2 separate regions of the Homo sapiens genome follow, and region 1 is linked to region 2. The links are contacts of gene promoters, found by promoter capture Hi-C in human tissues and cell types (Jung and others, 2019). All regions are on one chromosome and are shown on one strand. Each heading gives the region's core, a stretch centred on a gene start or on the middle of the fragment in contact. The rest is flanking DNA. Distances are from core to core; before and after follow the strand shown. Region 1 overlaps LAMP1 (lysosomal associated membrane protein 1). Region 2 holds the start of GRTP1 (growth hormone regulated TBC protein 1).

Region 1 (5,872 bases), core at 2,122-4,621, 42 kb after region 2:
TGTTTGTGGACATCTTGCCCGTGGAGGTGAGCGCCTCACTCGGGCCCTGGGGCGGGCGGGCCGCCAGGGAGTGACACCGGGTTCCCATGTCTCTGCAGACAGTGCTTCGGATCTGGGACTGTTTGTTTAACGAAGGCTCGAAGATTATCTTCCGGGTGGCCCTGACCTTAATTAAGCAGCACCAGGAGTTGATTTTGGAAGCCACCAGCGTTCCAGACATTTGCGATAAGTTTAAGCAGATAACCAAAGGGAGTTTCGTGATGGAGTGTCACACGTTTATGCAGGTGTGTGGGGCTGCACGTGGCTCAGTCCCCTCCCAGGGGGCCCCGCCTCACCTGCAGCCCGGGGGCTGCTCTGACCACCCGGAGGGTGCACAGGACGGGCACCAGTGGGCATAGGGCACAGGATGAGCCTCCAGCTCTGTCCTGCATCTGCCCCCTGCGCCTGGCCTCCGAGGGCTTTCCTGTCTATGGCGGCCCTGTCTTCTTGGCCCTGGCACTGCGGACGCTGCTCCTGGTCCTAATGGCTGTACTCATCTGCTGTGTGTGGTGCCAGAAGTGTGGCTTCCCGAGGCCCGGCCTCCCCACTGGGTCCTGGACCTGGCGCAGGCCGTATAGACTCAGGTCCTGATGAGGGCGTTGTGGGAGCTGTACCTGACAGGCCTTCTGAGGAAGCCAAGACGCCAGGAGAGGCTCAGGCCTGGGAGTCAGTAGTTTCCTAAGAGGGAGTGGAGGCTCGGGGCCACTCTGGGTGCAGCATGGCAAACGTGGGCGGTATTTCAGCAGCTGGGCCTTCATCAAAGAGAAGACCATGTTGGCCGGGCGCGGTGGCTCACGCCTGCAGTCCCAGCACTTTGGGAGGCCAAGGCGTGTGGATCACCTGAGGTCAGGAGTTCAAGACCAGCCTGGCCAACACGGTGAAACCCCGTCTCTACTAAAAAATACAAAAATTAGCCAGGTGTGGTGGCTCACGCTTATGTAGTCCCAGTTACTCGGGAGGCTGAGGCACGAGAATCACTTGAACCTGGGAGGCGGAGGTTGCAGTGAGCCGAGATCGCGCCACTGCACTCCAGCCTGGGCAACAGAGTGAGACTCTGTCTCAAAAAAAAAAAAAAAGTCTAATGGAAGCAGATGGCCTTTTCTTCCACCGTTTGATTCATTTAACATTTCTGAGCAGCAAAGCTGCAGTCCTAGGCCCCAGGGCAGGAGTGAGATGGTGACAATCTGTGGGTCACCCCAGAAGCCCTTGGATGTGGACTGCTCCTCCCTCACCTCACACGAGGCCTGTCTGCCTGCCTGCCAGTCTGGGAGAGCTAACGTAGAAATGGGTTGTTGGGTTTGTTTTTAAACTAACTGTTTGCCTTCCAGAAAATATTTTCAGAACCTGGAAGCTTATCCATGGCCACCGTCGCCAAGCTCCGCGAGAGCTGCAGGGCCCGGCTGCTGGCACAGGGGTGAGCGTGCCTGTCCCCTGCGTTGCTCGTCTCTACACTGACGATGCCCCTTTCCAGAGTTGACACTGGACCAACTTTCACTGCTTTCCTTTTTAGTGTTGTAAATACTTGACATCACTACACTTTAGTTGTGAATTTTTTAAAAGAGCAGTTTAAAATCAGGTCATTCTACCAGCTTTTGATGATTAGCTATGAAGTCATACTTTTTAAAGAAAACTTATTTTTACCTGAGAGATCAATAATATATAAAATGTGAGTGTGGGTTTGTATCTAATAAAGTATGCCAACACCTGTGTTTGTGATCAGTTTCTCAGCTGACTGGAAATTAACATAGTGAGTGGTCACTGAGGTCTTACAGCGGCAGTGTCAATATTCCATTCCTTTCTGTGACAGAGCGTGCAGTTTATGTGAGGCTTCTGCACGTAGTAGGTGATTTCTCTTTAGAAAGATCATTTTCTCCCTTCAACTTTTAACTTCTGGGTACAGGTGGAGGGTGTACAGGTCTGTTGCACAGGTAAACGTGTGCCGTGGTGATGTGCTGCACAGACCATCCTGTCACCTAGGTATGAAGCCAGCATCCCTTAGCTATTCTTCCTGATGCTCTCCCTGCCCCCGACCCAACGGGCCCCAGTGTGTGATGTTCCCCTCCTTGTGTCCATGTGTTCTCATCAGAAGCTCCCACTTACAAGTGAGAACAAGTGGTGTCTGGTTTTCTGCTCCTGTGTTAGTTTGCTGAGAATAATGGCTTCCAGCTCTATCCGTGTCCCTGCAGGGGACAAGATCTCATACCTCTTTATGGCTGCATAGTATTCCATGGTATCTGTATGAAAGGTAATTTTTTTAATGATTTAAAAATTATCATGTTACATGAATGAACCAGACAACTGTGCCAGGCACTCGGGCCACTCCCAACACCATTCCCTACGTCTGGCACCAAGACCACCCTCACCCCCCGTTTCCCTGACACCCTTCTCTCTGCACCGAGACCACCCTCAACCCCGTTTCCCTGACGTCCTTCTCTCATGAGCTCCCATTTTAGCTGACAGAAGGACAAGGCCCACCCCAAAAAGAAAGAGGCTTTTTATTACATTGTTACAGGCAATGCATTACGTGAGCTGGTCCCGTGTACAATCCCCAAGCCACGGCAAAACATCAGGAGAACGCACCGATCTCACATTGTACACAGCGCAGAACAGGATCACCCCGAATGTCAACAGAAGACCAAAAATCACTTTACAAATAAAAATAAAAATAACACCCATTTTTATATTTAAAAAAGTGCCAGCCCTTGAGCTGCAGACATTAGAGACGCCCAAGGACGTGCCGCCACTGGAACGAGGCCGCCAGCCACGTGTGGCCCGTCCTGGCCTTTAAAGCTGAACTGAAGCGCTCCAGACACTCATCTCTGGAGTTCCTCTGTCTTAGGATGTTCCCTCTCTACTGTTGTAATGTGTGAGCATGTCAGCCTCACCACGAGTGACCTTCATGCGTCCTACGTGTGACGGCCAGAGGCTTTCCCTTTGTAAGGCTTAAATCTGAGTGCAGTAAAGAATGAAGAAACCAAACACCAGAACCCTAAACTCAAATGATATGGAGCCAATTTAGAGCGGCACCCCCACCCCTCAGAGACAGCGGCATTCCACCCCTCGGAGAGAGCAGCACCCCCACCCCCTCAGAGAGAGCGGCACCCCCACCCCCTCAGAGAAAGCGGCACCCCCACCCCCTCAGAGAGAGCGGCACCCCCACCCCTCAGAGACAGCGGCACCCCCACCCCTCAGAGACAGCGGCACCCCCACCCCCTCAGAGAGAGCACCCCCACCCTCAAAATCCTACTTTGGTAAATATTAATGTTTAACCAGTTAGCAAAATATTTAACCCAGTTAGCAAAATTAACACCGTCATTTCGATAGTTACTCTGTTGTGCATAGTAAATGCTGCAAGATGAACTTCACATTGGATGAAGCAGATTTGAGAAACGTTTGCCAGAAAGTGTGCCTCCCCTTCGACAGGACCCTAAGCCCAGAGAAAGGAACAGAGGCCCCTGCAGCTGCTGTGCCTGCGTGCACCAGGCTAGATAGTCTGGTAGCCTGCGTGACTCCTCTTCCTGCCGACGAGGTAGGCGATGAGGACGATGAGGACCAGCCCCGCCAGGGCACCACCCACAGCGATGGGGATCAGCATGCTGTTCTCGTCCAGCAGACACTCCTCCACTGCCAAGACAGACGGATGGTGTCAGGGCTCTGCTCACACAGGGGCCTGCAAACAGGCCTCTCTCCCCACCACTCCCCCACATCAGCCAAAAGGCAAAGAGGAACCCTGGCGGAAGGTTCCAGCTCTAGCTGGAATTGTCACTTGGGGAAGCCGCTGCAGAGACTGGTGCTCTCTGCACGGCGAGGAAACCACACACGTCTCTCCCCCGTCTGGAATCAGGGGCTGTGGCCGGACAGCTGTGCTGCGTCCAGGGCCTCTGTGCACATCAGATGACAGTGTTGTATTCAACGTTCATGGGAGAAGCGCCACCACTGTTTCTTAAAATGATTCCCTTACTCTCAAATGGTACCAGGGGCTCCCAGCTGAGAGACACGCTGGGCCTCTCTAAAGCAGGGGGAGTTACCTCTAGAATCTCAGACCGGCAAGAAGAAACAGCTCCTTGCAGAGGAACAGGGGCGTCGCCCCAGCCCACACGGAAGCGACTAAACGTCCACAGGCGGAGTCTGAAGCACGTCCTCCACACCCCGCGACAGCTGCCCTCGGTGACACTCACCAGAGCCAAACTGGCCACCTTCCACCTTGAAAGCCTGGACCCACACTTTGAATATATTGACTGAAAACGCCTTCGTGACACGGACGTGCTCCTCCGCGTTGCACTTGTAGGAATTGCCGACTGTGGCCTGCAGCGCTCGCAGGGAGCCGTTGGCAGCTTTAAAGGCAGGGTCTGCAACACACACAGAGGTCTAGTGGCTCCAGAATACCCTGGGCGCGCGGGCGGGGGCGGGGCTCGCAGAGATTGTGGGTTCTCACCTCTGGCGTCAGGAAGAATTGTATTCAACTGGATTCCTTGTAGGAAAAACCGGCTAGAACTTGCATTCTTAAAAAGAAAAATGATCTTTAATCACGGAGCAGATTCATAGAAAGATGATCTTTAACCCCAGTAGATTCACACATTTATCATCAAACGTGAATGGTCATTGGGTAATAAACCTGACTTCCTACATTTCTAGTATTAGAACAAAACTGCAAAAGATCTTGTCTATAAAAGGCGTTGTGTATCTCTGGGGAATGAAAATTTTGGTTAGTTCCTTCCAGACCCTTCTCTGAGAGTCTTGCTCTGTCACCCAGGCTGGAGTGCAGTGGAGTGATCACGGCTCATCGCAACCTTAACTCCTGGGCTCAAGTGATCCTCCCACCTCAGCCTCCCAAGTAGCTGGGACCACAGGTGTGCGCCACTACGCCCAGCTAACTCGTTTTATTATTTGCAGAAATGGAGCCTCCCTGTGCTGCCCAGGCTGGTCCTTCCAGACCTCTTGAGAGTCAGTCTCTGGAAAACGGGGACTGCAGGAGCTATCACAGCACAGGAAAGCATGATTTGGAAAGCTAAAATTATAAGAAACTGAACTGTTAATTCATTTGCACAGCGATTTAAAAAGACTGACAAGTGACAATTATATGCTTCATGTCTTATGTTGCTAACTGCACAGGAGTCCTCCCAGGCAGAAATGCCACCACGGAACCACAGGGCAGCAGCATCTGAAGCCAGAAGGCCGCACGGCCTGCATGCCCTCCCCTGCAGCCACTCCAACTGTGGGCACAGCAGCCCCGCCCACATCATCTGCTGCATCTATGAATGGAATGGAAAGGGGGGAGGGGAACCAAGGAACTAAAAAGCCCAGGATAAAGGGAAGGCAGAAAAAAGTGAGGCCGCCTCCTTCCTAACGCTGCCTCCCATGAGCAGACCCAGGGCACAAAAAGATGTGGTGGAGACACAGTGGGCGCCCCCAGAGAGGTGCCGCCCCAGCCTCACCATCCCGAACTGGAAGAGCAGGACGGTGGTGCCCTCGCTGTGCAGCTCCAGAGTCACCAGGTGGGCGCCGCAGCTCCCGCTGGCCGAGGTCTTGTTGGGGTTGATGTTGAGAAGCCTTGTCACCGTCTGCATAAGACAAGCAAGCAAGTCACCACCCTAGCTCAGGTCCTCCACACTCTCGAAAAGACAAACAGTCCTGAAACCGTGAATTCAAGGCCACATTTGTTTTAACCAAAACCAGAAGGAAAACACTGAAAGACCACACTAGTACAGATTTCGGGATCCCAAGATGACTCTCCCTGACCCCGTGACAGCTGCTCTTGGAGTGCAGCGTCCCCGCGTGGAGGGCAACCAGCAGCACCACCTCCCCCTGCAGCAGTCAGCCCTGCAAACTCACC
Region 2 (5,037 bases), core at 2,538-5,037:
GGAGACTTAACCAGAACTGGTCACTGGGCCCACGGTCAGGGCCCTGGAGGAGACTTAACCAGAACTGGTCACCAGTGTATTTGGTTCCAATTAGAACAACAGTTCAGTTACATATTTATGAGGCAAAAGACAGGACTTTGGAGGATGTGTCCAGCCTTGTCACAGGTAAATAAGGGACATCATGAATCTCATCTTTGTCACCTGGGGACAGGGTTCTGAGCTGTTTCCAGAACATAAAGGGGGGGACTTCCTAACCTCCCAGGATCATAGGGCTCAGGTAAAGCTTATCTGTCAATTTTCCTTAAAAATAATCATTACTGTTATATATTATTATGTATGTATATACACACACACCTCAGATGAGGGCTTGACTCTCCCTGAAATATTAACACACCCTTTCCACCTATAACATTGCCCCCTCGCCGCCGATTTCTGTCTCCAGCCCTCTGCTGAAAATCAGGCCACGGGTTCCACAGCCTGGCTGCACAATGCGGTCCATGGGCCAGAGCAGGGCCTCCTGCTAGCAGGTTGGAAATGCAGCGTCCCAGTCCCCAGCCAGCTCTGCAGCACCAGGACCCACAGGTCTCTGGCAAGACCTGTCCTCCCCTCAGGGCTAGAGTCGCACTGCACTGGAATTTCCTGCAGTGAGATTTGGGTGACCCTCCCCACTCCCAGTTGCCCGTCTCCTGTAACCAGGCAGCATGTGGTCAATTGACTGGCTTCAGCCTCCAGGACAGCCTGGAGCTCCGTGGGGTTTGGCACATGCTGTGGCTCCACGAAGATGCCCACGTCATGGTTCATCACTGCTCGGTGGGTTCTGCTGCCGTTATCTTTGTCCTCTGTACTCACATCCCATTTTCTCAGGTCCTCCCGGCCTTGGGGATGCTAGACGTTCCTTCTATCTTGATGGGCACCCCAGAACTGAAGTACTCCTGAAGCCCTTCTAACTTCCAAAGGGCAGCAGCTTCTACAAAAAAAGCAACAAGGGCCAGGCACAGTGGCTCGCGCCTGTAATCCCAGCACTTTGGGAGGCCAAGGTGGGCGGATCACCTGAGGTCGGGAGTTCGAAAACAGCCTGGCCAACATGGAGAAACCCCCGTCTCTACTAAAAATACAAAATTAGTTGGGCGTAGTGGCGCATGCCTGTAATCCCAGCTACTTGGGATGCTGAGGCAGGAGAATCGCTTGAACCCAGGAGGCGGAGGTTGCAGTGAGCCGAGATTGAGCTATTGCACTCCAGCCTGGGCAACAAGAGTGAAACTCCGACTCAAAAAAAAAAAAAAAAAAAAGCAACAAGACGGCTGAATTCCTGAAGGGAGGAGGGGCATCATGGGTGGTGACCCCACAGAGGCCCCCTGGTGTGGCCCCTGAGGCCCCTCAGACTGAAGAGGGCCTCCTGCAAGGGAGCTGGGTCCCCCGGGGGAGGGTGAATTCTGAGTCCCTGAACTGCAGGGCAAGCTGACCCAGAGCTCCAGCACTGCAAAGCCTCCCCCGGAAAGGGCTGTCTGGAGCGGCTGTGGCCAGCACAGTCACTCCTGGGGTGGGTGTGCACCTGGCTTTTGCATCATGGCTGACTGTGCTGGTGGCTTCACAGAAAGGGAGTTTGTGTGAGGATGCTCGGGTGCCTGCTGGGTGCTTGGCACTGGGGTCGGGGGGGCGGTGAATGGAGGCACCTGAGGGACACAGTCCCAGGTGGGAGCTGTCCCAGGTGGGAGCTGTTCCAGATAGGAGCTGCTGTCTCCCAGTCAGGTCCCAGGTTGGGGCTTGGCCAGGCCTGGGCTGGAGCGGGAGACCTTTCTAGCTGCCTCGGTCTGGCTGCCCACCCTGCACAGAGCCTGGGGCTCTGGCCTCTCTGTATCTCTCCTCTCCACTCTTCCTGGAGGGCACCGCTCTTATCTGACCTGCTCCCCCACAGTCTCCCTACATCTGGCCCAAAAATACACTTGGTGGCAGTCCCGCCATCACACTCAGGCTCGGGAGCTGGCGGCCCCTGGTCCGTGCTGCCTGCCACGCTGCTTTCCACGGCAGTGGTGGGAAAGGGAGGTTAGAACCCCATCTCCATGGCCAGAAGGCAGGAATTAGGGAAAAGGGGAGCCGTGAGGCTTCCAGGCCTGGGGTTGGAACAGAAGCTGCGCGGTGTGGGGCGATTTGGGCGCAGGACCCCGGGTGCTGGGAAGTGGGGAGCAGGACTGTGTCTGTTGCTCCAGAAAGCGCGAGGGATGCGATATAGGAAATTCGGGCGTCAGTTAGAGCCCGAGAGGGGTTCAGGGAGTCACTGACTTAGGCAGAGAGGAGCCCAGACGGGGTTCGAAGACCCTGGGGACGGACGCCCACCTGTCAGTCCTGGACTGTGGGGCACCCGTAGGCCGAGGGGCAGGAGGCTATGGCCCTGTCTCCTGGCTTGGGTCTAAACATCCCAAGGAGGTCAGACCGTAGAGTGGGGGCTGTGTGATCTTTCAAATGAGGGACGCCGCGTGTTACCAAAGGCCAGTGCTGAGGAGCTGGGCTGAAAGCTTGGGGAGTTCCCAGAACCAGCAGACTAGGAACGGGAGGAACCGTGTCGGGGGCTCTGCTCCGCTGGGCACTGACCCCCACCCCGCCCCCCGGTCTTGCAAGGGCTGGAGAAGGGTGAAAGGCAGAGGCGGGAGTCCGCACTTAGGGACCGGTCCGTTCCACACGCTGCTGACCAGGCTCCTGGGTGGCGCTCGCATGGAACATTCCGGAAACACCCATGGGAAGGTCCCAAGTTGGTTCCGAAAGGCCCTGACGGACGCGCAGGGGACGCTGAGCCTGTGATCCTCGCCTCACCCAGACGAGGCCGGGCTGCTTCTCACAGGAAAGTGCGTCTGGAGTCCGGGGACGGCCTCCTCCTGGGGCCTGTCCAGGTCGCCCTGGGCCTAAATTACAGGCGGGGAGAGGCCTGTCGGAGGAGCCCCCGCTCCAGACCCCTGGGGGACCCAGGGCGAGGTCGCCCCAGCGCCTCACGTCTGGGGGCTCCCCTTTGCCACGTCGCCAGAGCAAAATTCAAAATCTGCAGTTCTGGCAAATTTCCGGGGCCTCCCGGACACGAAAAGCAGCTGAAATCTCAGGACAATGTCATTGGATGCGGACCGAGAAGAAGCCGTTCGGAACCAGAGCTGCCCCGGATTCTCCCAGGCCTGGCTCGCCGGTGGGGGGACCCCGGTCCCTGGTTTGGGGGGGCAGGAACGGGCGGGCGCCCCTGGGGGCTTCTCATTTGTGTGTTGGTCTCGGCCTTGAAATGCAGCGGAGAAAATAAAAAATAAAATAAAAATAGGAGTCAGGTGTCAGAGTCGGGTCGGCCAGGCACTGAGGTTTGAAGGAATCGCAGAAGAAGCTCCTCTCACCCGGGTCCAGGCCGCGGGGGTTCTGCGGGAGGCGCCCCCGATTCTGCCCGCGGGACGCCGCGGCCTCGGAAGCCCCGGGAGCAGGCCCCGCCCCGCCCCCACCCTCCTCTCTCCCCAAGTCCTCCCGCCCCCCCAGCCCCGCCCCTCCCCCGCCCTGGGTGCTCCCCTGCCCCTCCCCCGGCCCTCCCCCGCCCCTCACCCGCTCCTGCCCCTCCTCTCTCCCCAGGTCCTCCCGCCCCCAGCCCCGCCCCTCCCCCGCCCTGGGTGCTCCCCTGCCCCTCCCCCGCTCCTGCCCCTCCTCTCTCCCCAAGTCCTCCCCGCCCCCAGCCGCCCCTCCCCCCGCCCTGCCCCCCCCCGCCCCCGCCTCCAGCCCCGCCCCTCTCCGCTCCCCGCCCCGCCCCCACGCGCCCGCGGTCCCGCCGGAAGGACTTAAGCGCCCCGGAGCCGGGAGGCGAACTTGGGACCCGCTGGCCTCGCTCGGTGCGCGCCTCCCTCCCCGCATGCAGCCCGCCGAGCGCTCGCGGGTCCCCAGGTGTGTGGCGCGGGGTGCGGGCGTCCCCGGCGGCTGCGGTCCCCGCGCGGGCCCGCGACCCCCCAGAGGAAACTTCGGGGACGCCGGCCTCCTTCTCTCGGTTTTGCAGGATCGACCCGTACGGATTCGAGCGGCCTGAGGACTTCGACGACGCCGCCTACGAGAAGTTTTTCTCCAGCTACCTGGTCACGCTCACCCGCAGGGCGATCAAATGGTCCCGGCTGCTGCAGGGCGGGGGCGTCCCCAGGAGCCGGACAGGTGGGTCCCGGGGGCGCAGGTGGGTCCCGAGGGCGCAGGTGGGTTGGGCTGGGACGGGCCGGGCAAAGTCCGGGCTCCCGGAGCGGAGGGAGGGGGAGGAACCTTTCCGGGCAGGTCGGGACGAAGCTGCGGGCTCCGAGCTAGGGCAGCCGCAGGGACCGGTTTTCCCGCTTTGAGATGGGCCGGCGGGTCGGACGCGAAGGAGACCCGTCCCTCCCAGCAGGGAGCCATATCGGGATGGATCAAAACTCGATCCATGCCGGGCGCGGTGGCTCACGCCTGTAATCCCAGCGCTTTGGGAGGCCGAGGCGGGCGGATCACGAGGTCAGGAGTTTGAGACCAGCCTGACCAACATGGTGAAACCCCGTCTCTACTAAAAATACAAAATTAGCCGGGCGTGGTGGCTCCTGCCTGTAGTCCCAGCTACTCTGGAGGCTGAGGCAGGAGAATCGCTTGAACCCAGTAGGCGGAGGTTGCAGTGAGCCGAGATTGCGCCATTGCACTCCAGCCTGGGCGACAGAGCGAGACTCCGTCCTTGTGACGGGACCCACAGGGCCCTGCTCGACCTGCCGCTCCTCCGCGACCCCAGGCCTCCTACTGCTGCGGTGAGCACCGGCCTGACCGCCCGCCCGCCTCGGGGTTAGCTGCAGGGCCCCCTCCTCCGGGGCGCCCCAGGCTTCCCTGTGCGGAGGGCACCTCCTCATTTCTGCCTTTCCCAGCACAGCCCCTGCTGGAGTCAAAAACCCTTCCTCCCTGCAACGGATTTTTCATTCACTGCTCAGTCCTCAGAACCTGGGGCAGTGCCAGGCGACTTCCCTGTGTGTTCAGTGAATGAATGAAGTGTCTGCCTGGGGTGAGGGCTTGGTGGGAGTGTGCCCTGGA

What was found. Contacts are between HindIII fragments. The study calls those that stand out against the background at their distance.
Region 1: a contact is called between a fragment that was not itself captured here and the fragment with the promoter of GRTP1 in region 2, in 1 of the 25 tissues and cell types used here (IMR-90 fibroblasts).

Annotation. Positions count from the first base shown.
Region 1 is chr13:113,320,073-113,325,944 of GRCh38, reverse strand. It overlaps LAMP1 (lysosomal associated membrane protein 1), which reads right to left. Exons shown (of 9, transcript NM_005561.4): 6 at 5,475-5,600; 7 at 4,475-4,541; 8 at 4,218-4,388; 9 at 2,273-3,663. The coding sequence ends at 3,524. GRTP1 (growth hormone regulated TBC protein 1) reads left to right here. Exons shown (of 8, transcript NM_024719.4): 6 at 1-26; 7 at 99-284; 8 at 1,368-1,782. The coding sequence ends at 1,457. Among named protein-coding and RNA genes, the nearest start is that of LAMP1, 26 kb to the right of the region's middle. The HindIII fragment of the contact is 7,319 bases long and covers 1-5,872 here.
Region 2 is chr13:113,362,880-113,367,916 of GRCh38, reverse strand. GRTP1 (growth hormone regulated TBC protein 1) reads left to right here and starts at 3,787. Exons shown (of 8, transcript NM_024719.4): 1 at 3,787-3,897; 2 at 4,007-4,155. The coding sequence starts at 3,866. RefSeq lists enhancers at 146-839, 1,534-2,227, 2,228-2,921 and a silencer at 3,909-4,203. The HindIII fragment of the contact is 3,925 bases long and covers 1,399-5,037 here.